3 separate regions of the Homo sapiens genome follow, and all the other regions are linked to region 3. The links are contacts of gene promoters, found by promoter capture Hi-C in blood cells and fetal thymus (Javierre and others, 2016). All regions are on one chromosome and are shown on one strand. Each heading gives the region's core, a stretch centred on a gene start or on the middle of the fragment in contact. The rest is flanking DNA. Distances are from core to core; before and after follow the strand shown.

The links. The method cuts DNA at HindIII sites, captures the fragments that hold promoters and counts their contacts. A CHiCAGO score of 5 or more calls a contact.
Region 1: a fragment that was not itself captured here is called in contact with the fragment with the promoter of RECQL in region 3 in 1 of 17 cell types (naive B cells); the score reaches 5.8 in naive B cells.
Region 2: a contact is called between a fragment that was not itself captured here and the fragment with the promoter of RECQL in region 3, in 1 of 17 cell types (monocytes). The highest score is 5.2, in monocytes.

The regions. Positions count from the first base shown.
Region 1 is chr12:22,444,967-22,448,295 of GRCh38, forward strand. No RefSeq gene overlaps it. Among named protein-coding and RNA genes, the nearest start is that of C2CD5, 98 kb to the right of the region's middle. The HindIII fragment of the contact is 307 bases long and covers 1,236-1,542 here.
Region 2 is chr12:22,474,790-22,477,799 of GRCh38, forward strand. C2CD5 (C2 calcium dependent domain containing 5) reads right to left here. Exons shown (of 27, transcript NM_001286176.2): 16 at 1-102. Among named protein-coding and RNA genes, the nearest start is that of C2CD5, 68 kb to the right of the region's middle. The HindIII fragment of the contact is 714 bases long and covers 1,351-2,064 here.
Region 3 is chr12:21,500,237-21,503,433 of GRCh38, forward strand. RECQL (RecQ like helicase) reads right to left here and starts at 1,399. Exons shown (of 15, transcript NM_002907.4): 1 at 934-1,399. GOLT1B (golgi transport 1B) reads left to right here and starts at 1,553. Exons shown (of 5, transcript NM_016072.5): 1 at 1,553-1,712. The coding sequence starts at 1,688. RefSeq lists enhancers at 683-752, 773-822, 863-1,052, 1,193-1,252, 1,203-1,910 and 2 more. The HindIII fragment of the contact is 11,962 bases long and covers 1-3,197 here.

The DNA of each region.
Region 1 (3,329 bases), core at 139-2,638, 940 kb after region 3:
AACCTTGCACGCTGTTGATAAGAATATAAATTAGTACAGCCATTATGGAAAAGAGTCTGGAGGCTTCCCAAAAAATTGAAAATAGTACTACCATACGATCCAGCAATCCCACTACTCTGCATGTTTCCAAGGGATATGAAATCAGTATGTCAAAGAGGTATCTGCACTCTCATGTTCATTACAGCGTTTTTCACAATAGCCAAGTTATGAAATCAACCTAAGTGTCCACAAACAGATAAGTGGATAGAGAAAATATGGTATCTATACACAATGGGATGCTCTTCAGTCTTTAAAAAGAAGGAAATTCTGCCATTTTCAACAACATGAATGAACCTGGAAGACACAATGTTAAGTAAAATAAGCCAGGCAAGAATGACAAATACCACATGATCTTACATAGTATATGTGAAATCTAAAAAAGTTGAACTCATAGAAGTAGATAGTAAAATGGTGGTTGCCAGAGGTGAGGCCTTAGGAGATGTTGGTCAAAGGATACAAAACTTCAATTAAATAGGAGGAATAAGTTCAAGGAGTCTATTGTACAACATGGTGACTACAGTTAATAATGTATTGTGTTCTTGAAAATTGCTAAGAGAAGTAGATTCTCAGTGGTCCCACCACAAAAGAAAAAAGTGAGGTAATGCATATGCTAATTAGCTCAATCTAGTCATTCCACAATGTATATATAATTTAAAACAACTGTTGTACAAGATTAATATCTGCAATCTTTGGCTATTAAAAAAAGTCAAAAAATTATATATAATTATATATCTACTTTATATAAATTCAGATATCAATATAGGTATATTAATATATAATTTATATATAAATATATCTAATTATATAGAAATATGTTATATATATTAAATGTTATATATATTAAATATATATTATATATTATATATATAATATATATAATATATATTAATAATTAATCTATTAACTATTTATATTATATATAAATAATATATTGATTTATATTATAAATATATTTATATTTAATTATATATATATATGTAGAGAGAGAGAGAGATTGAGAGTCTTTATAGTGCCTTGACTTTTCTATTAGAAAGAAGCCAAGCTTCCTAGGATACTATTTATCCAACCATTCCTAACATTTTCTTCAGCGTGGTTCCTTATTCAGCCTGGGGTCAAATAAGTGGTTTCAATAAACCTCCTGAAGTAGTATGCAAAAGTTCATGTATATGCTTATTTTGGGGGACAAAAAGGTCCAAAGCTTAGATCGGATTACCAAAAGTACTCTGAAAATGACCCTCCTCTGAGGGAAAAAGAAAAAAAAGGTTTGTAAATAAATGTGTTGCTTCCACACAACACACATTTTTATGCTTCCACGTCTTTATGCACTGGTGCCATGAGATTAGGTGGCGTATTGGGAAGAGGATAGGTTTTGATCTCCCAGACTTCCGATTCAAGCTAAACCGGCTAAGTAGTAACAACATTTATGGAAATAAGAAATAGTAAATTTTTACTGATGGAGACATACTAACAAAAGAGCAATTCAAGATGTATGAAAATTGATGAAGCTTAAGGACAGCCCCCCCACACCAAAAAAAAAATCAAAGAGAGAATAGAGGTCAATTTAACTAAGAAGCTAAAAAAAAGGAAAGATGGTCACACTGTCCATAACAAAAAGTATAGATATTGTGAAAAGTTACTGTAAAGATAGACAACAAAATAGGGGGGAAATTGTCACACACAGCAGATTAAATATTAACAAGAAAAAGTCAACCCCATAGGACAGAAATTTTCATTTTCACAAAAAAAGTGCAAACTCAAATGCAAAATAGCTCTATTATTCCTACTGGCCAAAAATGTTGTCCATGCATAGACGCATCTCAAAAAGCATTATGCCAAATGAAAGTTGCTGAGCACAAGATCCCACTGACATGGAAGGGGGAGTAGACTGACTGCAGAGGGACACCAGGGAACTTTATTGGTGATGGAAACGTTCCATATCTTGGCTACATGATGGAATATATTTGCCAACCTCAAACTATACACTTAAAATAGATGAATTTTGTTGAATTTAAATTATATCTAACAGATTTTTCAAAATATGTAAGGACACACACTAGGTTATTAACATGGATTGGAAGGGATGTGATAGGGAAGAAGAGCAAACCAGGCAAAAGGGTAAAAAAGAAAACTACTCTAAACATTGTTTATATAATCCCATTTATGCACTTATGAAAAAGCTGTATGCATTAAAAAAAAACTCACCAAATAATACTGCAAGACTGCAATCCAATACTTATATCTTTGGCATGTTCAAATTCAAGGGCAGAACAGGTGATAAAAGCCAGATGACAATGCATCATGGGAGAGAAGGAGGTGGAGGAAGTGCGACAGTGAGTTCGTTTAAATTGAGTCGTTGCCCCTAGAAGCAGTGATGAAAGATGAAGGGCATGTTAAGCCTGCTGTAAATGCTGTAAACTGGCCTATTTCCAAGAGTAAGTCCCAGCATGTCCATTCCAGATGCTCATGTTTCAGGGGTAATGTACGCATAGTGAAAGAGCAGCAGCTCTTGGGGTGTAGGTTAACATTAGCCTTTCTGGAAGGAACCAATCTTGGTCCAGATGATTGTGCTTCAAAGGTAGCCCACAGGAGCAAACAGTCCCATGTGAGTAAATAGGCAGCAAGTTTGGGTGGTTAAGGAAACTCCAGCTTTGACAGAAATCAGTCTGGGTCTCACCATGAGTATACAATTGTTCATACTAAAATAGAGATAATCCCACCTGGCTTGTTTTATGAATTATTAGCAATATCGTTATGTACACAGGACATGGCACAAAACAGCCAATTAGCAATGGCTGTTATTATTCCTTTGCCTAGAAAGACTCTGGAGCACACTATGCAATCACGTAACAGCTGCTGGATGGACAAACGGCTGGACGAATGGATGCATGGATGAATAAACTGGGAATACCCAATTCCAGTGAACTACTTTTCCTGACTGAGCTAAAACATTGTCTCCTTTGGGAAGTACCTCTATTCCAAGCTACACTCACATTTTCTCACTTACTAGTGTAGGTTTTAGAGCCAAATTGCCTGTGCTTGAATCTTGACTCCACTATTTACTGTGTCTTTGGGGCAAATCACATAAACTCTCAATTCAGCTTCCTCAACTATAAACTGGTGCTTAACAATAAGGTTTCCATAAGGATTAAAAGACTTAATACAAAAACATCTTTATTAGACTGGCTGCCCATAGTAAGCATTCAATAAATATTAGCAATTATTAAAATACTACATTACCACATCTTACAAATTATTTACCTATGCAGACACTGACTGTAAGCTCTATGAGG
Region 2 (3,010 bases), core at 458-2,957, 970 kb after region 3:
TAATTCTGTAACTTCATCCGAGCTTTCTGATTGAGATCTTAGAAGTCTTGAGCGTTGCCTAGGTTCTGGGATGGGTGATCCTATAATCTCTTCAGATATCTCCTAAAAGAAATATAATTGTTTTATATCATATGAGATTGTCTTTTCCAGTTTAAATTTTACATCTTTATATTAGTAGACACCTACCTGTGGAGAAAAAGCCTGTAAAATATACTCAGTGAAGTCCGTACTTAAGTATAACCTTTAAAACTAAACTTTTATAGCAGATATGGCAGCCTTAATGATACACGAATCAGAAAAATATATATAACTGTCACAGACATAACAAGATAAAACTGACATCTAGTGTACACACAGGACACTACAATGTGTATGGAATTGGCAGTCCTTACAGCTCTGAAATCCAGTACTGCTGTGTGTGCATATTTTCTATTCAGCATTATAAAAGTCCTAATAGGCCTTAAAAATTTAAAGACTTATGTTCCTAGAAAGAATTCTAATCTTTTATATATTTTCTTATCCACTTTCAAAGCTCCATATAGCAAAATGTGAAATATGATCAATGTATGAGTATGAATACATATATACTTATACTATGCACATATTTGCTATTCAATTTATTAAGCTAAATAAACATTGGTACTTACAATAATGATCTTTTTAAGGTCAGTGTATGGTGCAATACTGTATGGCTTAGTGAGCTTTTTGCTGTTACATAGCCAAAGATCACTAGGGGTTCTAAGTGTCTGTCGGCCACAAGGAATGCTGGAAGAATATGAATACGTGAACGCAAAAGCAAAAGCCATAGCCTATTGCTGATGCAACAGAATTGTCTTTTTAATAAACAAGGAAATTGTACATAAAATTTTTCAAAAATATATAGTTTTAAATGTTCATTGGTAGTATGCACCTTAGATAAAAGACTACCACTGCACAATTTCATAATGTAATGATCTATGGAGCACTTTCACATCAATTTATCTTATTTGTACTCCAAATTAATCTGCCCTCTATAAAGTTAACATTATAATAACTACAAAATGGAAAAGAGCTGTAATTCAGAAGTAAATTAGTAGTCTGCCTAAATTTGGAAAACTAGCAAGTGTAGAGCCAGTCTAGGTCAGTCTTTTGACACACAGTGCAACGTTATTCCCACTAGATACCACACTACTTTTTATAATTTTACAATAGTTTTAAATTCTGTTATGCCTTTGTTCACAATGCCACAGACTTAACAAATATAACTGTCTGGTATTTAATATGTTCTAGATTCATACTGAAATTTCATCACTAGTACTGTTATTCTGAGAGATGTGCATCTTATTTTGATACCTTTGATTATCTCCATAAAGCTTAAGTGGTACTACACCTTTGTATTAGAAACATTTTTTAATGTATTGACAAAAAATTTAAACAGCAGCATTTATTTCAGTGAGGGCTATCATCCTAAGAGAAGGAACACTCTGATCTACATATTCAGGGTGGACATAACACAACACTGTAATGTGTATAGTGGCCTGGTAATCAACCTTGTACACTGACTCTGTCAAAAAAAATGCTGAGAGATTATGCTAAAAGACTATAATGTAGTCAGTATCTACAATAAGGAAAGACATATTAGAAGATGCATAAACTGATGAGTACTGTTGTGAAAATACAGTCATCCTCAACACATGAAATTCATATATGTTAAAATTTTTAAAATCATAATAGATTTACTCCCTCCTTCCAAATGTAAACTGTATGACACATAGTAGCAGCTCAATAAGTACTGAATGGATGAAGTAACTTAATTCATAGTCTTATTTAAACACATCCCTGTCTCCAAAGGGCTTACATTATAGTAAAGGAAGACAGATATATAAAAACTAAGTACAATAATATGTAACAGTTTCTATACAAGTACATACAGGTACAACAAGTACACAATGGAGGAAGAGTCCATTCTTCCTGTTAGAGGTCAGGATGGATTTACAGAGGTGAGAAACACTATTAAGTAAGTAAAAAAGTTCAGCTCATATCATTAGAAATAATAAATGAAGAATATATGAAACCCTAACACAAAGCTTTACAAATCATTTTTCCCAAGTGGCATACTATAAACAGATGTTCAAATATCAAAATATAACTACCAAATAAAAATAATGTACTATAAAAATAAGCAGTCAGTAGAGTGGTGCACAGAGAACTTTTACAAAGTCTATTTTTCAAATATGAATATGTTAACACATCAACATTTGCATTCATTTTAAAGAAGCCCTAAGTCAGTATTGTTCAATAGAAATATAAAGCAAGCCACATACATAATAAAGTAAAAAGAAACAGATAAAATCCATTTTAATAAAACATTTTATTTCATTCAGTATATCCAAAATATTAAATTTTTGACACAAAATCAATACAAAAATATTCATATTTTACACTACTTTTTCACAGTAAATCTTTAAAATCCAGTGTATATTTTATACTTACTACACATTTCAATTCAGACTAGTCACAAGTCCTCAAAAGTCACATGTGGCCAGCGGCTACCACAGTGAATAATGAATAGTGCAGCTGTAGGTCATAACCTTAAAATTCCTCCCAAATTAACAACTATGCTAGAATAATATGATGAAAGCTATACATGTGACGCAACAATCCAGACACACTGTTCCAGAAGACCAGCCAAAATTAGATAAGACGTTTAAAATAATAAAAGCAATAATGTTATACTTTCTTTTTTTATTTTTTTAATTATACTTTAAGTTTTAGGGTACATGTGCACAATGTGCAGGTTTGTTACATATGTATACGTGTGAATGTTATACTTTCCTTTTGTGAAAGTCTTTCATTATCAGAGACTCATAAAAACAAATAGTTTCATTCTAATTCCAACCCATTTTTCTTTCAATTCAGACTCTTGCCATCAGTCATCCACAGAGGAGGCAGCATTGTGATACTTATTGCAAAGTTGGTAAAAAGACTGATTAAAGGAAATGACTGGGAGCAAATTTGTAAAAAAAGAAAC
Region 3 (3,197 bases), core at 149-2,648:
TTCTAAGTTAGAGGTGGGGGGAGGGGAAAATGGTTTGTAATGATTTCTAAGTATCTATGAATGACTAAAACCTAAGCATGCATATGGACAAGTGGAAAATGGGGCTGGAGAGTAGAAACTTTAAATTCCCCATAATCCTAAAAACACCTCTTCTATCTCTCTAATATGGACATTTTCTAAAACTAAGATGCTCTCCAAAAGTCACTTCTGCAACACCTATCCTTAGACTGCTGACCTTACGCCCTTTCTACACAGAATTCTGAAGCCACCACTAGGCCGGAAAGATAGGCTGACTCTTTTTTGCCTTGCTAAAGAATGTGGAATAACCACACCATTAAAAGAAGGCTAAATAGGAGAGTAAACCAAGGATTTCTAATTCTTGATCTATACAAACATCTCTTCACGTAATGAAAATGTAACATTCCTTCCATAGACTGTAAGGTCCTTTAGCAGGGCTGGGGTTCAATCTCTTCACCTTTGTATCCGCACAGCCCAGGAAAATGCCTTGATGTAGTGAGGGCTCAGGTTTGCTAAGGTAGCAGGGGCTGTTTCTACCCTTATGAAAAGACACAGTCTATATCCAATTCTCCCCCACGATTTTAAATGACTCCTTTGATTATGCGGTTAAAAGACTGCTCCTTCCCAAAATGATGTGATTTAACAGCAAAAGATATCTCAACATAAAATGTATCCAGAAATTGAACTACAGCAGGTCTGTCACTCAGCAGTATAAGCTAGGCATCCACAGGAAGAATGTTACAGGGTGACAGCCAGTCATCAATGTTGGAGGAAACGCCACTGAGATACCATAGGCTAAATCCTCTCTCTCCCCGCCACCTGCATTTAGAGGCAATAGTAATTTAATATTAATAACGCCCGCCCTTCCGCTACTGTGAAGCAGGGGGTGGAAGAAGCATCCCCAGTAGTATTTACCAACAAATGGCAGCTGCTAATAAACAGGCTTTGGTGGCCAATCCTCCTGCATGGAAAAGAATGGGGAGATCAGAAGACCGGTCAGCAGGCGAACGTGCCCCTAAAGGCCCGAGTTCTCAGAGCAGGGCAGTGATTAACTTTCCGGTTTCTCCTCCGCCAATGTGTGGGCGAAAGGAAGTGATCCGCTACAGACCGGCCTCGCCCTGCAGCAGGAAAGGGAAGGATGAAACAAAAAGCGCACACCCTTGACCCTTCAAAGCTGTAACAGTAGTTATCCCAGAGCCTCTCCCCACCGAGAAGCCCGGTCTAACTCTCCGGTGTTTGACTGTCCGGTGTCCGACTGTCCTGTGTCCGACTCTCCGATCTCCGACTCTCGGATCTCCGACACCAAAGCACCCAGGCCTCGAGCAGATCTTTCCGCTACTCGGGAGTAAAATCTTCCCGCCAGCCAGCTGAGAGCATCCACCCTTCCGGGTCGGTCCGTTCAGCCAATCACAGATAACTCCCTTCTCTAATTGGTCAAGGGGTGTGGTCACCATGCGCGTCACCGAACAACATTACGAGTTATTGGTTGAGATTGGAAGCAGGTTTCGCCAATAGGAAGCGCTCTTAAAGCGGCAGTGAGGGTGGCTGCGTGTTTCCGGAAGACGTGGCGGCTCTCGCCTGGGCTGTTTCCCGGCTTCATTTCTCCCGACTCAGCTTCCCACCCTGGGCTTTCCGAGGTGCTGTCGCCGCTGTCCCCACCACTGCAGCCATGATCTCCTTAACGGACACGCAGAGTAAGCACCTGCTCCGGGGCCCCCGCCTCGAGCCGCGCACACCCATCGCCCGGCTGGGTCTCGCCCCTCCGCCGGGGTCAATGAATGAAGCTCTGGGTTGGGGGCGGTGGCCTGCGAGACAGAGCTAGGGCTGCTGGGACCCTAAGGGGCTGCCTTCGGGATGCCGGGGCTAGACTTGGACTGGCGGACCTGACCTGGGAGAAGAGTCTGTGGGGCAGGGTGGGACGCCCTATGTTGGGAGGGGAGCTTTAGCCCAGAGTCTGTCTCATTCCAGGGTCGCGCTGATCTCCTCATCCCCAGTGAGATGGGCGCTTTGTTCTAGGGGCTTGCCACAAGAGAAAGTTTGCGTGGTGCCCGCGGCCCACTCTCGGGATCGTTTATGCGCATGACACACTTCGGGTCCTCTACAAGTCCCTGGCTGGCTGGTTATTTGGGAGGCGGTATTTTAAATGTCACCTACAGTAGGCTCTTTTTGAAAATGTCCTTACGCTTAAATGTGGCATTTTGAATATTCGCTTTTTGCCAGTACTGTAAGCAACCTTTTAGAAGTCTCTTGAAACATTCTCACTTTTCTACCTGCTAAAGTTTCAAGCAGTAGAGAAAAGCCACTTTGTGTGCCATTAAAGGATATATTTCGTTAGTATTGTATATTGTGCTTTGTGGCTTGTTTTATTATTTTAGCATCGCTCTCTGCCTGCCACAGAGTTCTCCAGGCCTATTTCATCTCTAAAGCTAGCATTGATATCGGTTTCCTTTTCTTTCATTATAATATTTCCACTTTCCTACTGCTTTTTGTTAATATTAATAATTTTTGTATTTATGTCTGCCCAAGCTCTGTACCTCATATTTTGATGTTCATAAGAGTCTCTTTTTGTCTCACTTTGCTTTATCTGCCACGCCTTTCATTTCACTCCAGTTAACTCAGATTTTCAATATTTTAAGACTTAAACAGTGAATTGAAGTGAAAAATAGAAGTTTATTTAAAATGCCCTATTTTAAAGTGGAGTCTTCTTGTGGAGATTCAAGTCATGGCAGACCAACTTCACAGAGCTTCTAAGGCCTCCTACACACACTGCCACCCCCCAATCAGGCTGTCTTCCCTCCTGAGGCTGGACTGGGGCTGCCTCTTGGGGCCACCTGCCCCAAGGTTGCCGCCCACTTTGGTCCATTGGCCTGGCCTGTTCTGATCAAAGAAAATAAAAGTGTAGTCTTGAGGGGATAGGAATCTAGTGTAATAATAATTACTGGCAATTATATAAAGGTATTTTCTTTCAGTTAACCATGTGCTTTCATGTGAATCATTATGCATAATTCTTATAAGAGCCCTGTAAGGCTCACAGAAGCATGCCCCTTTCATAAGTTAAATGAGGCACAAAAGAAATTGAGTGCATGGTCAAAGAAAAAGTGACAGAAACAAAACTTGATCCCAGGTGTGCTGGCTCAGAAACCTTTTGCACTGTACCCCACTATCACCTAAGAAGACTT